Regions from separate parts of the Homo sapiens genome. Here all the other regions are linked to region 1. Evidence: promoter capture Hi-C in 16 types of primary human blood cells and fetal thymus (Javierre and others, 2016). All regions are on one chromosome and are shown on one strand. The core of a region is centred on a gene start or on the middle of the fragment in contact, and the rest is flanking DNA. Distances in the headings are between cores, read along the strand shown.

Evidence for each region. Contacts are between HindIII fragments. The CHiCAGO score rates a contact against its expected background, and 5 or more counts as called.
Region 2: a contact is called between a fragment that was not itself captured here and the fragment with the promoter of REPS2 in region 1, in 1 of 17 cell types (activated CD4 T cells). The highest score is 5.2, in activated CD4 T cells.
Region 3: the fragment with the promoter of AP1S2 here is called in contact with the fragment with the promoter of REPS2 in region 1 in 1 of 17 cell types (naive CD8 T cells); the score reaches 5.1 in naive CD8 T cells.

The regions. Positions count from the first base shown.
Region 1 is chrX:16,944,850-16,948,340 of GRCh38, forward strand. It overlaps REPS2 (RALBP1 associated Eps domain containing 2), which reads left to right and starts at 1,809. Exons shown (of 18, transcript NM_004726.3): 1 at 1,809-2,285. The coding sequence starts at 2,013. The HindIII fragment of the contact is 5,688 bases long and covers 1-3,212 here.
Region 2 is chrX:15,670,540-15,674,030 of GRCh38, forward strand. It overlaps a transcript of CLTRN not described here. Among named protein-coding and RNA genes, the nearest start is that of CA5BP1-CA5B, 3.2 kb to the right of the region's middle. The HindIII fragment of the contact is 2,251 bases long and covers 472-2,722 here.
Region 3 is chrX:15,852,910-15,856,400 of GRCh38, forward strand. It overlaps AP1S2 (adaptor related protein complex 1 subunit sigma 2), which reads right to left and starts at 1,904. Exons shown (of 6, transcript NM_001272071.2): 1 at 1,779-1,904. RefSeq lists silencers at 1,331-1,620, 1,841-2,120, 2,211-2,320 and an enhancer at 1,938-2,542. The HindIII fragment of the contact is 8,276 bases long and covers 501-3,491 here.

The DNA.
Region 1 (3,491 bases), core at 559-3,058:
ACCCTAGACTGATGTTTTCTTTTGGGTTATTGTTTCCCAGTGAGGCTTCATGCATATATTTCTGCAGGTCTTCCCAGGAAAAATGACATTTAAAAAGAGAATTTTTGGAAAAGAGATGCAGATATGTGGGCCTGATGCTGGAACTTCCAGTGCAATGGTGGGACAGACTTTTTTTCCAGTGGCTTCTTTTCTGGTCTCTCTTTCTCTCTCTCTCTTTGAGACAGAGTCTTGCTCTGTTGCCCAGGCTGGAGTGCAGTGGTGTGATCTTGGCTCACTGCAACCTCTGTCTCTTGGGTTCAAGTGATTCTCCTGCCTCAGCCTCCCAAGTAGCTGGGACTGCAGGCACTCACCACCATGGCCCAGCTAGTTTTTGTATTTTTAGTAGAGATGGGATTTCACCACGTTGGCCAGGCTGGTCTCGAACTCCAGGACTCAAGTGATCTGCCTGCCTTGGCCTCCCAAAGTGCTGGGATTACAGGCATGACCCACCGCGCCCGGCCTGGACTTTCTTTTAAAAGCGGCTAGAGGGCCAGGCGTGGTGGCTCAAGCCTGTAATCCCAGCACTTTGGGAGGCCGAGGTGGGGGGGTGGGGGTGGGGTGGATCACCTGAGGTCAGGAGTTCGAGACCAGCCTGACAAACATGGTGAAACCCCGTCTCTACTAAAAATACAAAAATTAGCCAGGAGTGGTGGCAGGCGCCTGTAATTCCAGCTACTCGGGAGGCTGAGGCAGGATAATCGCTCGAACCCGGGAGGTGGAGGTTGCAGTGAGCCAAGACTGTGCCATTGAACTACAGCCTGGGCAACAAGAGCGAAACTCCTTCTCAAAAAAAAAAAAAAAAAAAAAAAGTGGTTAGAGTACTAGCCAGGGGGAAGCAAGCACATTTGAAAAATATAGTGTGTATGCTTTAGGATAGGGAGGAATGGAGAGAGAGAGGAGGACATGGACCGGGGTGGAAAAATGTGGGGTTTCGCATTGATTTTTGGTGTGAGCTTGAACAAGTTTTGTACTAAAAAAAATGCCTGTTTTACTACTAAAATAAGTGCTTCCTTTGGAGAGTGAGGATCCTCTGTTACTGAGGTTTGTATTTTCAGGCCCTAGCATATAAATCTGCTACATACGAGATATTCAACTGGTTTTGGAGGAATGAAGGTGAACATGGCAGTTTCCTCATCTGTAAAAGCAGGGTTTGGACGAAATGATCTGCAAAATGGGTCTTTTTGTACTCTTACTACTCTAGTATTTACGAGTAACCGATGTTATTCCTTATAAAGTCTCAACTCCTGGTTTGAGCCATGTCTGACGAGGGGGCCTAACTCCAATACCACCCTGAACACTCTGGGGTCAGTGGGACCCTGTTTGTACAGACGTCTGCGTCTTCCGGCTCTTTAGGACATAAGCAGTACTGCTATGGAAGAAAGGAAACCTAATTTCCCATGCCTTGTCCCTTTCTGGAAAGGGCATGGCGTGGTGTGGGCACCACACCTGCCCCAGCCTTCTAGCAAGAAAACAACACAACCTTCCCCGCTCCCCGAAAAGAGCTTCTCTCCAGTTGGGTCTAGATGCCCCCTTCCCAACCAGGGCGGATGGCCAAAGGCTCCGCTCCCTTGCAGGGTAGGCTTGGAAAGGCACGGGGCCCGCCTTCCTGGGCACCGGAGCCTGTGACGGGCGGAGGGCGTGCGGCGCGCTGGGTTAGTTACCTGGCGCTGGGCGGGGCAAGCGGGAGGCGGGGGCGGGGCCGGGGTGACATCTCAGGCTGTGATTGGGCCGCGCCGCGCCTGTCTCCATGTGCCGCGCAGCTGAGGCACAACATTCAAGCCCGGGGGTGGGGCCGGCGCGCGCCGGGAGGAAGCGGCCGCGCGGCAGCTGCGGGGCGTGGGGGTGGTGGTGGCGGCGGCGGTGGTGGCGGCGGCGGCGGCGGCGGCAGCTGAGGCCGAGGAGGCGGTGGCTGTGGCGGACGCAGCAGCACCCCAGCTAGGGACAGGGCTCCGCCGCGCCCCCTTGCTGGCCCCATGGAGGCGGCAGCGGCGGCGGCGGCGGCGGCAGCGGCAGCGGCAGCGGCGGGCGGGGGCTGTGGCTCCGGGCCGCCGCCGCTGCTGCTGAGCGAGGGCGAGCAGCAGTGCTACTCCGAGCTCTTCGCGCGCTGTGCCGGCGCCGCGGGCGGGGGCCCCGGGTCTGGGCCCCCCGAGGCCGCCAGAGTCGCCCCCGGCACGGCCACTGCGGCCGCCGGCCCCGTGGCTGACCTGTTTCGGGCATCGCAGCTGCCCGCCGAGACGCTGCACCAGGTGGGTCCCTCCGCCTCCTGTCCCTGCGGGTCTGTGGGGCAGTGTGTGCGGGGGCGGAGGTTGCGAGTGGGGCGACAGGGCTGCCCCCAGGGACCCGGAGGCCTCGGCCAGTTCTGAGAGAGAGGACTCTGCAGCCGGGGATGGCGGCGACGCCCTTGTCCCCGGGGGACACCAGCCTCCTTCGCAGCTCAGCTCCTCGCCCAGTGCTGGGTGCGCTCTCCCCATCTTCCTTCCCTGAGACAGTCTGACACTCTCTCCCCTCCCCCGGCCATTTCTGGGGTTCTGCAGCCGCCCAGACCCAAAGTTTGTCCTGTTCTGGAAGTGGTGTTTGTTTTGGCTGCTGCCTGGTTTAACCTCTGCTCGCTGCTCCTGCCCCTCCCTCTCCTGAGTGGGTTCTCAGGGTGCCTTGCTGGGATTTCAACTTGAAGGGTGTGTGTGTCCGTAGGGTTCGAGGCCCAGGGCTGAATGTTGTCCTCTCTATGTAGTTGTAATATATAAGTATCTACTATATGTAATTGCCCATAACATATTTCTAAATATTAATATTAAATCGAAAACCTTAATGACAAGTTGCAGAACAGGGACACGGGACTGCAAGAGGACGTTTGTCAAGTCAAAACCAAATTTCCCATTTGAGATTAGAGGTGGACTTCAGAAGTCCACCATGGGAAACAGCTGTAGTTTCCCATCTATCATTACTTGGACTTGAAATAGAATTGAAAGGTAAGGGATGTCATAGCTACCACCTTTTGGCTGTTCTATACTTGGAAAAGTACTAGGGGATGATACATACCAGACGCTGTTTTTGTTTTGTGCTTTCCTTGGAGCTTGGAGAAAGACTACTTGATAAGCCTTTGTCTGTCATTTCATGTCACCAGCACTTCATGGTGATAAGACTGTTAATATCAGGTTCAAAACGTGAAATGAAGCTTTTCCTAAAAGCAATAGTATGAATGTTATTAACACCAATGGAATATTTAGAGTGGCGAGTGGTATTTTAAAATCTAGTTTCAAAGGAGAACTGAGGGTTTTATGGTTCACTTGCAATGTCATTGTGTTCATACGTATTTTTAAAAAAATTGCTTAAGACTGCGTTTTATACTGCTGGAGTGTTTTTACTGCTATATGTTTGTGAGCATAACTTTAGACACTTTGTAATCTTTCACCCTTTTGAATTTGGGATTTCTGAAACTGTAACTAGTATTC
Region 2 (3,491 bases), core at 347-2,846, 1.3 Mb before region 1:
GCAACAAAAATAATTTTATTCTCTTTAAATTGTCAGTGTTAAGATACATGGAGAGACAAAGTATTTTTGTCTATTGTGTGTAAGTTCTATTTTAACTCAGTGGTTTTCAATTGGGGGTGATTTTGTGCTCCAGAGACACTTGGCAACGTCTGGTGACATTTTTAGTCATCATGAATGGCAGATGAGAGGATTCTACTGGCATCTAGTGGGTAGAGGCCAGGGATGCTGCAAAACACCCCCACAAACTTTAAAAATGTCATTTAGGTAACTCTTTTCTTCTTGTAGTTGAGTTAATGGAAATAACCCACACAAGGAAGAACAGAAGAAAAAAGGGAGACAAGTGTGTGTGTGTGTGTGTGTGTGTGTGTGTGTGTGTGTGTGTGTGTGTGTGTGTGTGTGGTTTCTCTAAGGCTAAGAATGTAAAAATATATACATTGCAATGCATTTCATGGTACTTAATTTCCAGTCACAAGCTTATTAGAACTTCAGTTTATGATTCAAATTAGTCAACTCAGTTTTCTTAAACTATCATATTCATGGGCTACGAGAAATGCAAAAATGAACCAAATATAGTCTCTGCCCTTCAGGAACTTACAATTTTGTAGGACACAAAAGTAAATCACGATGGCAATAGATGCACATACAATTGTGAACAAAATGCTATAGGAACACTGGAGAAAAAGAGGATAAAAAGTTACTGGATTTGACAAGTCAATTATAAAACTGTTAACAAAAGAAAAATAGAAGAAAGGTTTCTCAATGATAATCAAGATAGACCTGGAACAATGGCAAGATGTTTAAAGATAAAACATGAAAGCCCACAGGATACAAGTTAAGGAAATCTGAAAACAAACACAAAGGACAGATACAGGATATGGCCAACAGCAGGGACTTGCTGGTAGAGTGGTTCAGAGGAAGATGGGGGAGAGAGCATCAGTGTAGATGCATCTGAAAAGCCAAGTTGGGTTCTGATCTTAGAGGTCAGAGAGTCTGGATTCTCCAACAATGGTCCTGAGAGGCTAATGAAGATTTCAATGTGGGAATGGGTTCATTGTAAATGACACAGAGAAGGACAATGGGAGATGGGAAGGACATTCCCTGACAGTGAGTTTCCAATGTGCCCTTTATTTACTAATCACAGGCTGTTGGACTGGCAGCCCACTACGTGCCCATGACTACAAAAAACAGGAAATTATTTTTCATTGGCCATCTTAATAAAAAGATAAATGAGCTTATTTTAATAATAATTTTAGAATATAGAACAGATGATGTTACAATCTTTTGGTATGCTTAATTTTATGCGCGCACACACACACACACACACACACACACACACACACACACAATTTCCAGTATCCTTGGTAAGCAAGAAACTCTATAATGTGGAATATTTTTGTCTCCATCACATATATCCCCTTTTTAAGATGAGAAATCATATTAAGCAAGGATATTTGAAAAGCTCATCAAATTTTGTAGGTTAATCAGTAGCCATAATCATTATGAACTTTGTCTTATTCTTCACAAGTTAACATTTTTCTACTTCAGAGAAAGTTAATCACTACCGTTTGGAAATAAAAATTAATTCAGATCAACTGAGTGAGTGTAATTCTGCCAACTTTATGCTCCTAAAGTAGCAATTTAAAGGACAGTTTCTTAAATGGGAAAAAAAAAGTATGTGTGTCTGTGTGTTTCATCTTGTGCATGGAGACCAATGCTTTATAATGGGTCTCATGTAGTTAAAGCAAGACATTTCTTTTACAGGTTTAGCTGGTTCCACTGTTGCTCAGGTGTAAGAGTTTTCTCATGATTTGGCAAGTCAATTTTCTCTTTTTACTAGGCTAACAGTATTGCAGCCATGGTCTATGAAATAGTATTTTCCATCCTTAATCATCAATTTGCCCACCAGTTGGAGGTCACCTAGTCACATTTAGCCCTGACAACAGGTACTTCTTTTGCCAACCTCTATAAAGGGTGTGGGGGCGGGGGCGGGATCAGACCACATAACTTTTAGGTTATATGCTCTCATTAATATTAAAGACATATGAATTAATCAATATCTCAGAATTTCTGATCCTACGTTTCGGCCAGTGATGACCCTGAACCCTCTACTGTCTGAAATTCATCAAAAGTCTTATGAGAAATGTTTTTGTGGACTGCCTAAAAGATGTGCACAAGAGATCCCTATTACTACAAATCAGAGATGACAGGTTGTTTGCAGCCATTTGCTCATCCCACACCCATGACAAACATTTTTTATCTATTTCAGAACTTTTTCCTTCTGTGCATGGACTCAGCCACCCCAACTGAGCTATTCAGTCCACTAATATGAATAAATGGGAGTTGACATGTGAGTTGAAACTTATGTGCCATTATGGGGAAAGATTATCTAAATGCTACCCTGAATTAAACCAGACCATTGTGGGGCTGTGTACTCAGTCGAACAGGAAATTTTGGATGGTTCATGAAATTGATTCAGTGCCCTGTGCTTTGTGATTATGCCAACAGTTTCCATTGAGGGAATGTGGGTGTAACAACTTATGACACTTATTTCCCACGTAGCTCACAGCGTCATCATGATGAGGAACTGGGATTTGCCTTGGGGCTAAAAATTATTTTTAAAAAAACAAACAGTGCTTCTCAAAAGCAAACAAAATCCTGATTGATTGGTTTTTATGAACACCGTAAAACTTTAAAATACTTGTTATCTCCTGTTTTCTATGGAAGCTTAGAGTGAGATCTCTTGCCCACCTTCAAAAACTGTTCTGGATCTGAAAGTGTGCATACTTGAGTGTTAATCTTACCATTGGCTACATTATTTATTCTCCCTCCATGAATTTCCCCTCTGGTTCCTTAAACTATAATACTTACTTTATACAGTGTTGCCTATATTTTGGTACGCGGCCTCAAATCATCTGGGAGAAAATAATGCTATAAAAATCAATGCAGTAATTTACACAGGCTGCACTTGATCCCATTTCCGGTGTGTTTAATTTTTCATGCAAAAAATGATTAGCATTGGCAACATTTTATATAAATGAGATAGAGTTCTCAGAGCCAGGGTGAGCTTAATAAAAAATGTTTTGTTGAAAATTGTCTTTTACTCTGTGCTCCTTGTAGCTCAATATTGTGAAAGTTCCCACTGTCTTCAAAGCAGAAATGGATGGAAGGTGGGAAGAGAAAGGAACTTTTACACTTTATATGTGATCATAAAATCTTGATTACTGGCATATGTAGAAGTGTATATAGTAAATCTCACTGCCATGGAGGGAAAAATTGTAATCCTCTATACAAGTGAAAAGGGAATACTTTAAATGAAGATTGAGAATTTATTGTGAAGGGAGCTGTACTAACTGCTATGTAAGTGGCTTCCTATGTTTGCTGCCCCAAAATACTCCTGCTAATTAGAACAACAAACCAGCACTTATCAAGTCCTTTTCCACCTATCAACTCCTTTATTACACCATCTTTAATTTTCTCAATTCTTGTGCCAT
Region 3 (3,491 bases), core at 654-3,153, 1.1 Mb before region 1:
TTTGGGTACTTTTGAAAGAAACAGAAGACCTGCTATTTTTCATCCTGAGGCCGTTCTAGTTCCAGGGTGAATTACTTGCAGACAGTAGCTTATGTCTTGGAATGTTCTCCTCAGTTTATGATGGCATATTTTAAGCAAAACAGAATGATCCAAAATATTAACTGAAAAATCCCATAAATACAAATTTTCATTAATAAAAAAGTATGTTTTCATCTGACTTTTAAAGCATTCCAACTTAAATATGTACAAAATCTAGAACTGAGTTAATGTATTATGAAAAAGAAAACAAACGTTTAAAAGGCCACAATAAGATTTACACTTATTAAATAAGATTCAGCATTGAAACATTACATGAAATACTTCATTTAAAATAAAAAATAGTATCTACAGATGGAATGGATGCTGAATTCTAGTGTGTTTTATACTTAAACTAATTTGTATGTATTTATTTGTGATCTGCAAATGTGTTGATTAGTCTGCATGTTTCATTTTTAACGCCAAGCTTTTTGTAATCCAATTGGTCATCTCAACTGCAAACAGAAGTATTGTTTCTACAAAGGTAATTTAAAGGCAGAATTCACATAGGTATCCTTTTTTCTTTTAATCACTGTTAAGTTCCTTTAACAGCGTTACTGCAAATAAGATTCAAGCATGATTCTCAAGATTCACCACACCATCTTGAATTTGAACACGGGGAGGGGAAATTTACAGAACCAATGTAGAATAAAAATGGGCCCTAAATTTCGGTAAGAAATTATCGTCGCTTTTTGTAACCACCCAAAAAGGTATCAACAAGATATCTAGAAATGTATGACGTGGCAATTCAACTTTAGTAAAGTTAAAATGGTCTTATTACCTCACTTAAAATGCGTCAGGGGAACAAAATATAAGGACATTATTAGGTGATACCAAAGTGCCTCCCGTGCAAGTCCTGAAGATAGCGGCATTCGAAGGGGGCAGGAAGTGAAGCATCAACTGGGCATTTACTGCAAACCCGTTACCAGAACTTGGAAAAGAATGGACCTCGTATTCCTAGATCTTGGTGACCAGAAAGGGTGAGGGTTTGCCTGCGAAGAGTATGGGCTCAAGGCTGTCTGGAGCAGGGTCCTGTATCCGCCCTACCACTTTGCAGGACGAAAAAACAATGTATTCTCCTTAAAATAAATTATGTCCTAACATGGGACGAAACCCGGTTGCAAAGCACGAGTATTCCTTCCCTCGTGTTAAAAACCAACGCTTTGATTTTGCCGCAAATCACAGGGCACCACAATTCCTCGAGACTGGCATTAAAAACAATGGGCTCAGCCGCGGCGCGGGCTCGGGGCCAGCGTTCCTCGGGTCCGGCCGTCGCCGGTGCCTCCCCCCCACTCCCGTGGCCACACTCCATCACTGACCAAGCCCGGGAGAGGTGACAGGCAAGGAGCGGAGCAGACAATGGCATCCGCCGCCGCGCAGGGGGCGCCAAGAGTCCTCGGCCGCCACCGCCCCCGGCCCCTCCCGAAAGCGCCCCGCAAAACTTGAGGCGATTCCCGAACCACAGGTGCCGCGAGGCTGTCGCGGAGCCCGGGACTGGCCCCCACATCCCCGGGCGCGGCGCGGAGTGGTGCGGAGGGCGCGGACACGGAGAGAAGTGAGTTGCGGGCGCGGCGACCCAGTGGCGGGCCGGGCAGGCTCGGGGTGGGGTCGTCGGGGCGCGCGCGGGGTGGCGGGGGGCGCGCCCAGTCCTCCCTCCCCCTCTCCCCCATCCCCGGCGCCCCCTTTCGCCCCCAGGGACTTACGGCGGCCGCGGGCCGCGGGCGCGGCGGAGCTTGGCCGGCGGCGGCGGCGGCGGCGAAGGGGAAGCCCCTGTCGCCGTGCTGAGGAAGAGAAGCCGTGGTGCTGTGGGGAGGACACCCGGCTGGCATAGGGCAGGCTTAGGCGGAGAGGGGAGGGCAAGCTGACAGACCCCGCCCCGGGGGCCGGACGAGGGAGGAGCCGGGGCTGCGGCGAGCTGAGGGGCGGGCTAGGCGACGCGCGGGAAGCGGCTCAGCGGTCGCCAGCGGCACCGGAGGCAGCGCGGGTAACCGCTGAGTCCAAGGCAGCCGATTGGAGGTTTCTTCGCTGAGGGGAGGTGCGAACCGGAAGCCGGGCCACGTGACCCGGAAGCGGCGTTTGCCGGGCCCGAGCGCCCGCGCGCCCGCGCGCTCTTGCAGGTGCCTCCGGGACGCGCGCGGGCGGCTGTCCTGCTTGTTTAATGATAGGAGGACGGGATTCTGCAGCGTCCTTAGCCTAGCGGGTGGTGCGGGGCAGGGAAGTTCCGGACAGCGAAGAGCCACGTTCGAGCTCTAATGATTCTCTGTGTCCCCAGAGAGGAAGTGTGAAGTGTGACGGCTGACGAGGAGGGTGGGAGGAGACGAGGGAGTGCTGCAACTCTGGAAAAACAAGTCAGCTCTTCTGTGGAGCTCGTCACGCATTCACGGGCCTTTTGCTATCATTCTGCCTCAAAATTGTCCGGAATCCGCCCTCTCCTTCCCATTGCACTGCTCCAGCCCTAGCCCAGACACCTTCCGCCCCGAGCTTCGCGGGAGTCTGTTCCCTGGGCTCGCCTCGCCCATCCTCGGTGCTGCGGACTGGATGAGTTACCGTCCGTTCGGCTGAAAAGCCCGGACAGCACCTCACCTTCGAGATCCCGCTTCCTTCACACTGGGTCGCCCCACCAGCCGCCTGGGTTCCAGTTTAGCACTGCCGACGACTTGCTGTGCCTGGCATGTCCTTGCTCCCAAATGTCACATCTATGAAGCCTCACCCTAAAACCCTGTAAGAGCGATTCCCTCTTTCACCCACATGCCCGTTAGCCTTTATTTAGCACACCTTAAATTGTATTCATTTTGCATCTCAATCTAGTTCACAGCCTGGTATATAACAACTAATAAATGTGAGTTGACTGATAAAGACTATAAAATGATAAATTTGTTAAGAGCTGTAATGCTGAGCGTAATGCCTGGGCATAATGGATGTTCATAATTTTCTGAATGATAGAATGGATGAATCATCTAGTCATTTACAGATAAGGAAAGGGGAGTCCCACGGGATTAGGTGACCTTCCTTGAAGAGCCACGGGTTTCCCATATCGAAATGCTATTCATTACCCGAGTCACCTAGGTTCTTACAAAGGAAGCGAGAAAATTGCTTTTGTTGGGCCATGCCCCTTTTGCAGAGGTTCCTAAGTATAGTCGCCAGAATTTTTTTAATGGCCTAAAGTAAAAAAAGAAATGCTAAAATTTTCACGAAGCTAAATGTAATCAATGTAAAGGAATCCTTTATTAGGGATTATATTCTTTTTGTGTACATTATAGTATCTATGAAACTAAGACAGTAGTTTTGGGGGCTTTTAAAAAATGCTTTTGTATGACAAAACAAAAAGAAATGTGTAATACTTCCCCTTTTCAAGCACTACTGTGCTGCTTGGAAAGTTTCCTACTAACATGTATGATTAATGTATACTGGAATAT